Regions from separate parts of the Homo sapiens genome. Here region 2 is linked to region 1. Evidence: promoter capture Hi-C in human tissues and cell types (Jung and others, 2019). All regions are on one chromosome and are shown on one strand. Each heading gives the region's core, a stretch centred on a gene start or on the middle of the fragment in contact. The rest is flanking DNA. Distances are from core to core; before and after follow the strand shown. Region 1 holds the start of FKBP1C (FKBP prolyl isomerase family member 1C). Region 2 has its middle 150 kb from the start of FKBP1C.

Region 1 (4,100 bases), core at 1,497-3,996:
GGGTATTCGAGAACAGCCTGACCAAGATGGAGAAACCCCATCTCTACTAAAAATACAAAATTATCCAGGTGTGGTGGCGCATGCCTGTAATCCCAGCTACTTGAGAGGCTGAGGCAGGAGAATTGCTTGAACCCAGGAGGTGGAGGTTGCGGTGAGCCGAGATCATGTCATTGCACTCCAGCCTGGGCAATAAGAGTGAAACTCCATCTCAAAAAAAAAAAAAAAAAAAAAAAGAAAGAAAGAAAGAAAGAAAAGAAAAAAGAGAAGTGTAGATTTTTTGGGGGCAGGAACAAACAGTTTGTCTCATTTGCCCTTAATTATTTCACAATTTTAAAATTTATCTTATAGTTGCATACAAATACTAAAGGATGGAGATCAATAAAGCATAACCTGAAGCTGCTATAATATGAATTAAGATGCGTTTTTAGCTGCAAGCATTTAATTTACATTTAAATATACTAGGATTTAGAGTGTTAAGTAATTGAAACTAAAAAGTCCGGTCAATAGTTTTAATCCAAGTCACCTATAAGTTACATTACTACTCTTCATTATAAGAATTGTACAACTGAAAATTCATACTGTTATAAAAATGCCAGGGTTTTGGTCTAGGTCCTGCAGCTCACCACCCTGAAAGCCAATCACTGAGACAATGAGAATTTCCAGGGAAGAAGGCTTTATTTGGGTGCTACAGCTGAGGAGAATGGGAGATGAGCCTTAAATTAGTCACCTCAACCAACTAAAACTAAGGGTTTGTATAGCAGGGAAGAAATGTAACTATGTGTGGGAAAACAGGAATTAGGGAGGGGTAAAGAAGAGGAGTTGGTCAACAGGAAGCAGGTGGTCACTTATGCGATCATGATAGGTGAGGAGTCTTTCATCTTATTGTCCAGATGTGGTGATCTCGTAAGTTTCCTTTCCTTGATACTGTCTGGAAGGCCTGATGTGTGGTTTCCTGAGAAAGGAACCCAGATAAGACAAATGTAACTTTCTCAAGTTTTAAGATGGGAGTCTCAATTTTTATGTTTATTCAAAAGAAACCATAAACAGCAGTTCTATGAGTAATTAGGCTGGTTCCATACCATATTTTTATTTATATTTAGTTATTTATTTAATTTTTTTATTTCCATAGATTTTTGGTGAACAGGTGCATACTGTATTTTTATTTTATTTATTTATTTATTTATTTATTTTTTGAGAAAAGCCAGCATAAAGCACTTTTATTGCAATAATAAAACTTGAGACTCATATATGGTGCTAGGGGAAGGGGGCAGCAACGATTCCTCTCACCAAATCACTACACAGGACAGCAAAGGGGTGAGAAGTGGCTGAGGGAGGAAAAGCCAGGAAACTCTGAGATCAGCAGAGGGAGCCAAGCATCAAAAAACAGGAGATGCTGAAGCTGGGATGACCAGCATCATTTTCTTAAGAGAACATTCAAGGATTTGTCATGATGGCTGGGCTTTCACTGGGTGTTAAGTCTACAAACAGCACCTTCAATTGAAACTGTCAATTAAAGTTCTTAAGATTTAGGAAGTGGTGGAGCTTGGAAAGTTATGAGATTACAAAATTCCTGAAAGTCCGTTAGAAAAACCACAGGATGAAAAAAAAAAAAAAAAAAATAAGGCCACAAAGAAGGCTTCAGAGGTCCCTGCTGGCCCAGGGACAGATACCTGTAGTGTCCAGCATCGCAGTGAACATGACCTGCTTTCAAAGGCAGAGGGTTTAAGGGGAGGGTGGGGTGGGAATGGTGGAGGCAAAGCCTCTCCCCATCCCCACCTCAGTTTTAGGTAGGGCTTTTAATTTAACCCAAGGACATCTCTCAACTTGGAGAATAATTCAGTCCTCAACAGTGCCTCAAATCTGCTATGGTTTTGCAGCGCAGCAGCAAGAATGTTTAATATATAATAGATAAAAATTTCATCCAAAAAATTAAAATAAAATATTCTTGCAACCCCCTCAACACCAATTCCTATCCTAACGTTAACTTATCACTTGTGCTGTTAACACTTGACCATGTACTTAATTGGAAACCTATATTCAAAAGACTGAAACTGAATCTTCACCCCAAAATGAAAAAGTAAAATGAATAACTTGACGTTTATGGCATATAGTTTAGGTAAACGCACATACCAGGAGAAAGGGGAAGAGGAAACAGAGGTGTCGGAAGCAAAGCTGAGTGACAGAACACATTCAGTTGGGGCAGATGTCTATACAAAGTGGAGTGGAACATCAGGAAAAGCTCCATATGGATTTATGTGCACACGTCTGGAGGCACCAGATCCCTCCATGGCAGATCCAAGAACAGGGAGCTAAGGGAGGAGGCCATTCCTGTCATTCCAGTTTTAGAAGCTCCACATCGAAGACGAGAGTGGCATGTGGTGGGATGATGCCTGGGTGCCCAGTGGCACCATAGGCATAATCTGGAGATATAGTCAGTTTGGCTCTCTGACCCACACTCATCTGGACAACCCCTTCTTCCCAGCCTCGGATCACCTCCTGCTTGCCTAGCATAAACTTAAAGGGCTTGTTTCTGTCCCGGGAGGAATCAAATTTCTTTCCATCTTCAAGCATCCCGGTGTAGTGCATCACGCAGGTCTGGCTGCGCTTCGGGAAGGTGCGCCAGTCTCCTGGGGAGATGGTTTCCACGTGCACTCCCATGGCGGCGGCCGACGCCGAGCGGGCGGGCAGCGCGACGGGCGGCGTGGACCGACAGCGACCTGGCGGCGGTTCCACGGCTCTGCCTAGTCCCTCAGCGCGTTGCCTGCCCATACTGTATTTTTAAAATCTACAAATTCTATATTAGTGCCTTCTGGGCAAGTGTGTTGAATGAGTCACTTAAAAATCTCTAAATAGGTTTTTTTTTTTTTTTCCCGTACTGGAAGTGTTACCATTTCCTTGTTAACTTTGTTAACTTTGTGTTTGGTCTCCCATTATCTGTGGCGGCTACGTTCCAAGATCCCCAGTGGGTGCCTGAAACCACAGAACCACAGATAGTACAGAACCCTATATATACTATATTTTTTCCTGTACATACATACCTATGATAAAATTTAATTTATAAATTAGGCACAGCAAGAGACTAAAAACAATGACTAATAATAAAATAGAACAGTTATAACAATATAAAAGCATCATTACTCTTGCACTTTGAGGCCATTATGAAGTAAAATAAGGGGTACATATTAAACACAAGCTCTGAGCTACCTTACAATTGATCTGATAACCAAGACAGCTACTGAGTGACTAACAGACAGGGAGGGTATACAGTGTGGAGATGGTGGACAATGGGATAATTCACGTCTCAGTCAGGTGAGAGTGGAACGGGATGGCTCGAGATTTCTTCACACTACTCAGAATGGTGTGCAATTTAAAACTTATGAATTGTTTATTTCTGAAGCTTTCAATTTAATATTTGCAGACCACTATTGACCATGGGTAACTGAAACTGCAGAAAGCAAAACTGTGGATAAGGGATACTATTGTATATATCTGGAGTTTGATTTAAAGGTCTAAAACAGATCTCTAAAACTTTTGCTCAAATGAATTAACTGTTGTCCATCTAAATAGTATGCTACGATTAGCGTAGCCACTATTGTCAGGTTTCTGCCAGAAGTATCAGTGTAGAGAGATATTTTAAAGAAAAAAGGAAGGATGTATATATTTGAAAGTTGTCCAGTACTTTGCATATAAACTCACAGTTATATTTTTCTTTCTGTGTGTTCTATTATGTTCATGTTAACTTAGAAAGAAATATGCTTTGAGTCTGGTTTACAAAGAACGATATAGATTCAGTAGTCTAAACTTAATGATTTACATACAGCTTTTTTAGTGATAGAAAACACTAGGTAAGTTAAGAAAGTTTAAGAGAAGCTGCTATTGTTCTTGAAAGCATGTATATTTAACTCTTTCTATGTGAAAAGAATGTTTTTGCATTCTTTGTTGCTGTAGATGTTATGTGTATATACCTTTTACTTTTGTAATTTTTAAAAAACAGTGGAATTATAAATTTCTTATCAACTTGTCTTTAGGTTAAATACATTTAGTGTAGCCTCTGCTTGCCATTAGGGCTAAGAACCTAACTACATTTGAAATAGAACCAT
Region 2 (4,444 bases), core at 1,370-3,869, 150 kb after region 1:
CTAAAGAGCTTACTCATGTAACCAAATACCATCTGTACCCCAATAACTTATGAAAAAAATGTAAAAAGATGTTAATTAATGTTACTGAATCTCACTCTTATCTGTAAAATAGGATTGAGAAGAATATTTCACATTAATTTATGTTGAAGATTATAAAAACAAAATTTTATGTGTATTGTAAAACATATAGTCTATTTTTTAAGTGGTAATTATTATTTGGCAGAATGTGGTAAAAGGAACACTTATAGGAAAAGTGGCTGTAGGTATTGGATGTTGTGATGTGCTATCCAACTTCCCTGCTTGGTGACGGTGGAACTCCTTCTTCTAGCTGCAGGGACTTTTGGCTGATAACAGATCAGAGCTAATCCTAGTGACTGATTGATAAGGATTTCAAAGGCCCAGCCCCCCTGCCTTAGTGTGGCATCTCTGAGGGCTGTCCTGGCTCCAGATGTCCCTATGTGGTTGGCTGAGGCCCCTGCTGCAACTGCATTGAAGTTCAACTTCTCCCTTTGCCCAATCTTTCTTTATTCTCTCTCTCATGAGTGCTGCTTCTGAGGATATTCCCCAAGAAACTTCCTATAACCAAATCTGTCTCAAGAGTCTGTGCCCAGGGCATTCACCTATGAGCATGTGACTTGAAGAATGCTGAAATTTCTCCCCCTGCTGGCCTACATGAATGTCAAATATTAGTGTCAACCGCTCATTCATTCAACACTCACTTCTCTTTGTTGACAACCTGCTACATGTCAAGCGCATCTTTTTCAGTTTTCTTAAACTAGAAAGTTCCTCATTCTAGTTAGAGAGTCCCTACTTTAAGAGTCCCTACTCTTAAATAGGGCCAAAACATTCTAACATGTTGACAGCAGTGAGAATTTCTGATTGTCTATTACAAGGTGTCAGCTAGTAGGAAACTTTCTGTCAGGTTTACTAGAAATCATTTGCTAAGTAAAAGAAATATACATTTGATTTATATTGAGAAAAAATAATGTAACAGCATGAATAAATTATGAAAATATGCAAGTATAACACAGGCAGTACATTAGAATAACAGATGCAAACTTGTTTTGTGAATTATGAGGTTATTCTCAAATTATGTGTGATTTTATTCTCAAGCTGTTCATTATATCTTTTCTCCTATTTCATTTTATTTGAAAGCATGTTTTTCTAAGTGGGAACTGGTTTATGCTCTAAAATTAGAGGCAGCAGGGTGAAATGAGAACATGAGTTTTAGTGTAAAAAAGATTTGGGGCTGAATTCATTTACCATTTTATAATTGTGAACTTGGGGAAATTACCTTGTTTTTGAAGCTTGGCTTTCTTGTAAGTTCAATGAGGATACTAATACCTACTCAGTAGGATTTTAAGATAATTAAACAAAAGTATATGTGTAGAAAGAACAATGTCACTTTAAAAGAATTCAATGAATAAAGATAATTATTGTTATTATCATAGTATCTTGTTCATATACGATGCTCATCATTTGATAAACTTCATTACACAATTAAATGCATTACCAATACCTGGGAATTCAGGATTCCCAAATGATCATCTGAGAGGTCACATAACAGAAAATTCTCATGTAGACCAACTAATTCAATACTGTGAGAATTAAATGAGTTGATATAAGCACATGCCCAAAATCAGCTTTTTATGGTGCTTAATGAGTATGTCCTTTAAATAGTACTTTGTTAAACACATAGTTGCTTAAATATTTCTTGTTCTAAATAAACATTTTGTTCTATTGTTAAAATTATTGGTCTGCTTTCAGTTACAATAGCGTGGGTCTTACAACTCTTATCTGTTTACAAGGAAGGCAAATTTTCTAAAAAATTGTTCTAACTTGGTGCCAGATAAGTGAACTATGTTTATGTCTATGTATTGAAAACAAAACAATAAAAATAAAATAGAAAAATTATTGAACATAACTTTGACGAAAATAGAACTTTAAAAGAATTGTAGTTCGTACATTTTTCTGACTTCTACATCAACTAATACTGTATTTGAGTTTTCTAATACGGAAAAGCTATCTTGAATATACCTAAGATGGATCTAGACCAAATGCTTCAATGTAGACCAAAAGTGAGGCTCAGTTCATTTTGAAGGTGCCAGATGAAAAAAAATAGATTTCTTTTTAGTGTTCTTCCTACCTTGGGAGTTTTGAGATATTTTCTAGAATGCTATTTCTAGTAAATACAAGGGAAAGACCTTGGTGCACTTTGATAGTGCCATGCTAGTCACAGTTCTGAACTAAAAACTTAGATATGGCATCATGCCAGGACCACCTTGAAATATATGACAAATGCATTAGCTTGGAGCAAGAGAGATTCATATATCTTAATTTTCTAATATTTTAAAACTCTGGTGTGGCATGGAAAATAAATGATTTCATAGCAATCCTGAGAATTTTTCATTTTACCTGGGTCACATTTGTAATAGTTGCCAAAGAAGAAAAAAAGTCTTTATAATATGTGTGTACATGCGGTTATGGCTTTAATTTCCAACCTTTGGATGACTATTACAATTCTGGTTAGGCTACAGCAAAGTAGCAGAATCATCATGGAGAGGATATCCCACTCTACACTTTGGGGGGTGTCATAAGGCAGGTGAGGGACCTGGAAAATGCCATGGTTCTTGTTATGGGGGAGCCTGTGTCATAAAATGACAGTGAGAGCCACAACAGGAATCCCATGTGAGTACAGCTAATATAGAATTTGTCTACTTGTGGCAATGGCTTCCTTTAGTAAGGTCAAATTCACAGAAAAGAAAAGCAAATGTGAATCTTGCATCTTTGTTATAAGTGTTATAGCTAGTTAGCTGTGCTCCTTTAGGCAAGTCACTTTAAGTATTCATGACTGCTCTACCAAGGGCGGGGGCATAATATAGTTAGAAGGACGTTGAAAAACATAAAGTGCCACATAAACCTAAGTTATTGCCATTTATAATTTAATTCATTTTTAGAAACTTTTAAATGTCAAAGATATTTACATGTTTAATTTTCTTCTAACATAGTGTTGAGAATACCATTTCCAAGGTAGAGGCAGAAGAGAGTTTCCTTTCTGATCCTAGAAATCTTTTTCATGAATTGCTAATGGAGATGCTATCAGAGAGGCTGTATGACTGGTTCCAAAGTTTTTTTGTTTTGTTTTGTTTTTCAACTTTTATTTTAAGTTCTGGGGTACATGTGCAGAATATACAGGTTTGTTACATAGGTAAACGTGTGGGTCCAGGCATTGGGTAAATACACCCCATTCCTTGTGGGAGAAATTGGCCAAAACAAAGGGACTACAGGCCCCATGTGAGTTAGAAATCCAGCAGGGCAGTCAAATCTTAAAGCTCCAAAATGATCTCCTTTGACCCCAGGTCTCACATCCAGGTCATACTGATACAAAAAGTGGGCTCCCATGGTCTTGAGCAGCTCCACCACTGTGGCTTTGCGGGGTACAGCCCGCCTCATGGCTGCTTTAATGGGCTGGTTGGTATTGGGTGCTTGTGGCTTTTCCAGATGCACACTGCAAGCTGTTGGTGGATCTGCCATTCTAGGGTCTAGAGGATGGTGGCCCTCTTCTCACAGCTCCATTAGGCAGTCCCCATTAGGGCACTTCTCACAGCTCCATTAGGCAGTGGGGACTCTGTGGGGGCTCCAGCCCCACATTTCCCTTCTTCATGGGCATAGCGGAGATTCTCCTTGAGGGCTCTGCCCCTGCAGTAAGCTTTTGCCTGGACATTCAGGCCTTTCCATACATCCTCTGAAATCTAGGTGGAGGTTCCCACACCTCAGTTCTTGACTTCTGTGCACCAAAAGGCCCAACACCACATGGAAGCTACCAAGGCTTGGGGCTTTTAACTTCTGAAGCAATAGTCTGAGCTATATGTTGGCTCCTTTTAGCCATGGCTAGAGCAGCTGGGATGCAGTCTTGAGGGTGCACAGAGCAGGGAGTCCTTGACCCCGCCAGAAAATCATTTTTTCCTCCTAGACCTCCAGACCTGTAATGGGAGGGGCTGCCATGAAAGTCTGTGACATGCCTTGGGGACATTTTTCCCATTGTCTTGGTGATTAACATTTGACTCCTTATTTATGCAAATTTCTGCAGCCAGCTTGAATTTCTCTCCAGAAAAATGGTTTTTCTTTTCTATCACATCATCAGGCTGCAAATTTTCCAAACTTTTGTCCTCTGCTTCCTCTTGAATGCTTTGTCATTTAGAAATTTCTTCCACCAGATACCCTAAATCATCTCTCTCAAGTTCAAAGTTCCAAAGATCTCTAGGGCAGGGGCAGAATGCTGCCAGTCTCTGCATAACAAGAGTGACATTTAGTCCAGTTCCCAACAAGTTCCAACTGAGACCACCTCAGCCTGGACTTTATTGTTCATATCACTATCAGCATTTTGGTCAAAGCCATTAAGCAAATCTCTGGGAAGTTCCAAACTTTCACATTTTCCTGTCTT

The links. The method cuts DNA at HindIII sites, captures the fragments that hold promoters and counts their contacts. A contact is called where the count stands out against the background at its distance.
Region 2: a contact is called between a fragment that was not itself captured here and the fragment with the promoter of FKBP1C in region 1, in 5 of the 25 tissues and cell types used here (H1 embryonic stem cells, aorta, hippocampus and 2 more).

What each region holds. Positions count from the first base shown.
Region 1 is chr6:63,210,115-63,214,214 of GRCh38, reverse strand. It overlaps FKBP1C (FKBP prolyl isomerase family member 1C), which reads right to left and starts at 2,746. Exons shown (of 1, transcript NM_001395980.1): 1 at 1,188-2,746. The coding sequence starts at 2,658. The coding sequence ends at 2,332. The HindIII fragment of the contact is 10,095 bases long and covers 1-4,100 here.
Region 2 is chr6:63,062,474-63,066,917 of GRCh38, reverse strand. No RefSeq gene overlaps it. Among named protein-coding and RNA genes, the nearest start is that of FKBP1C, 150 kb to the left of the region's middle. The HindIII fragment of the contact is 5,493 bases long and covers 1-4,444 here.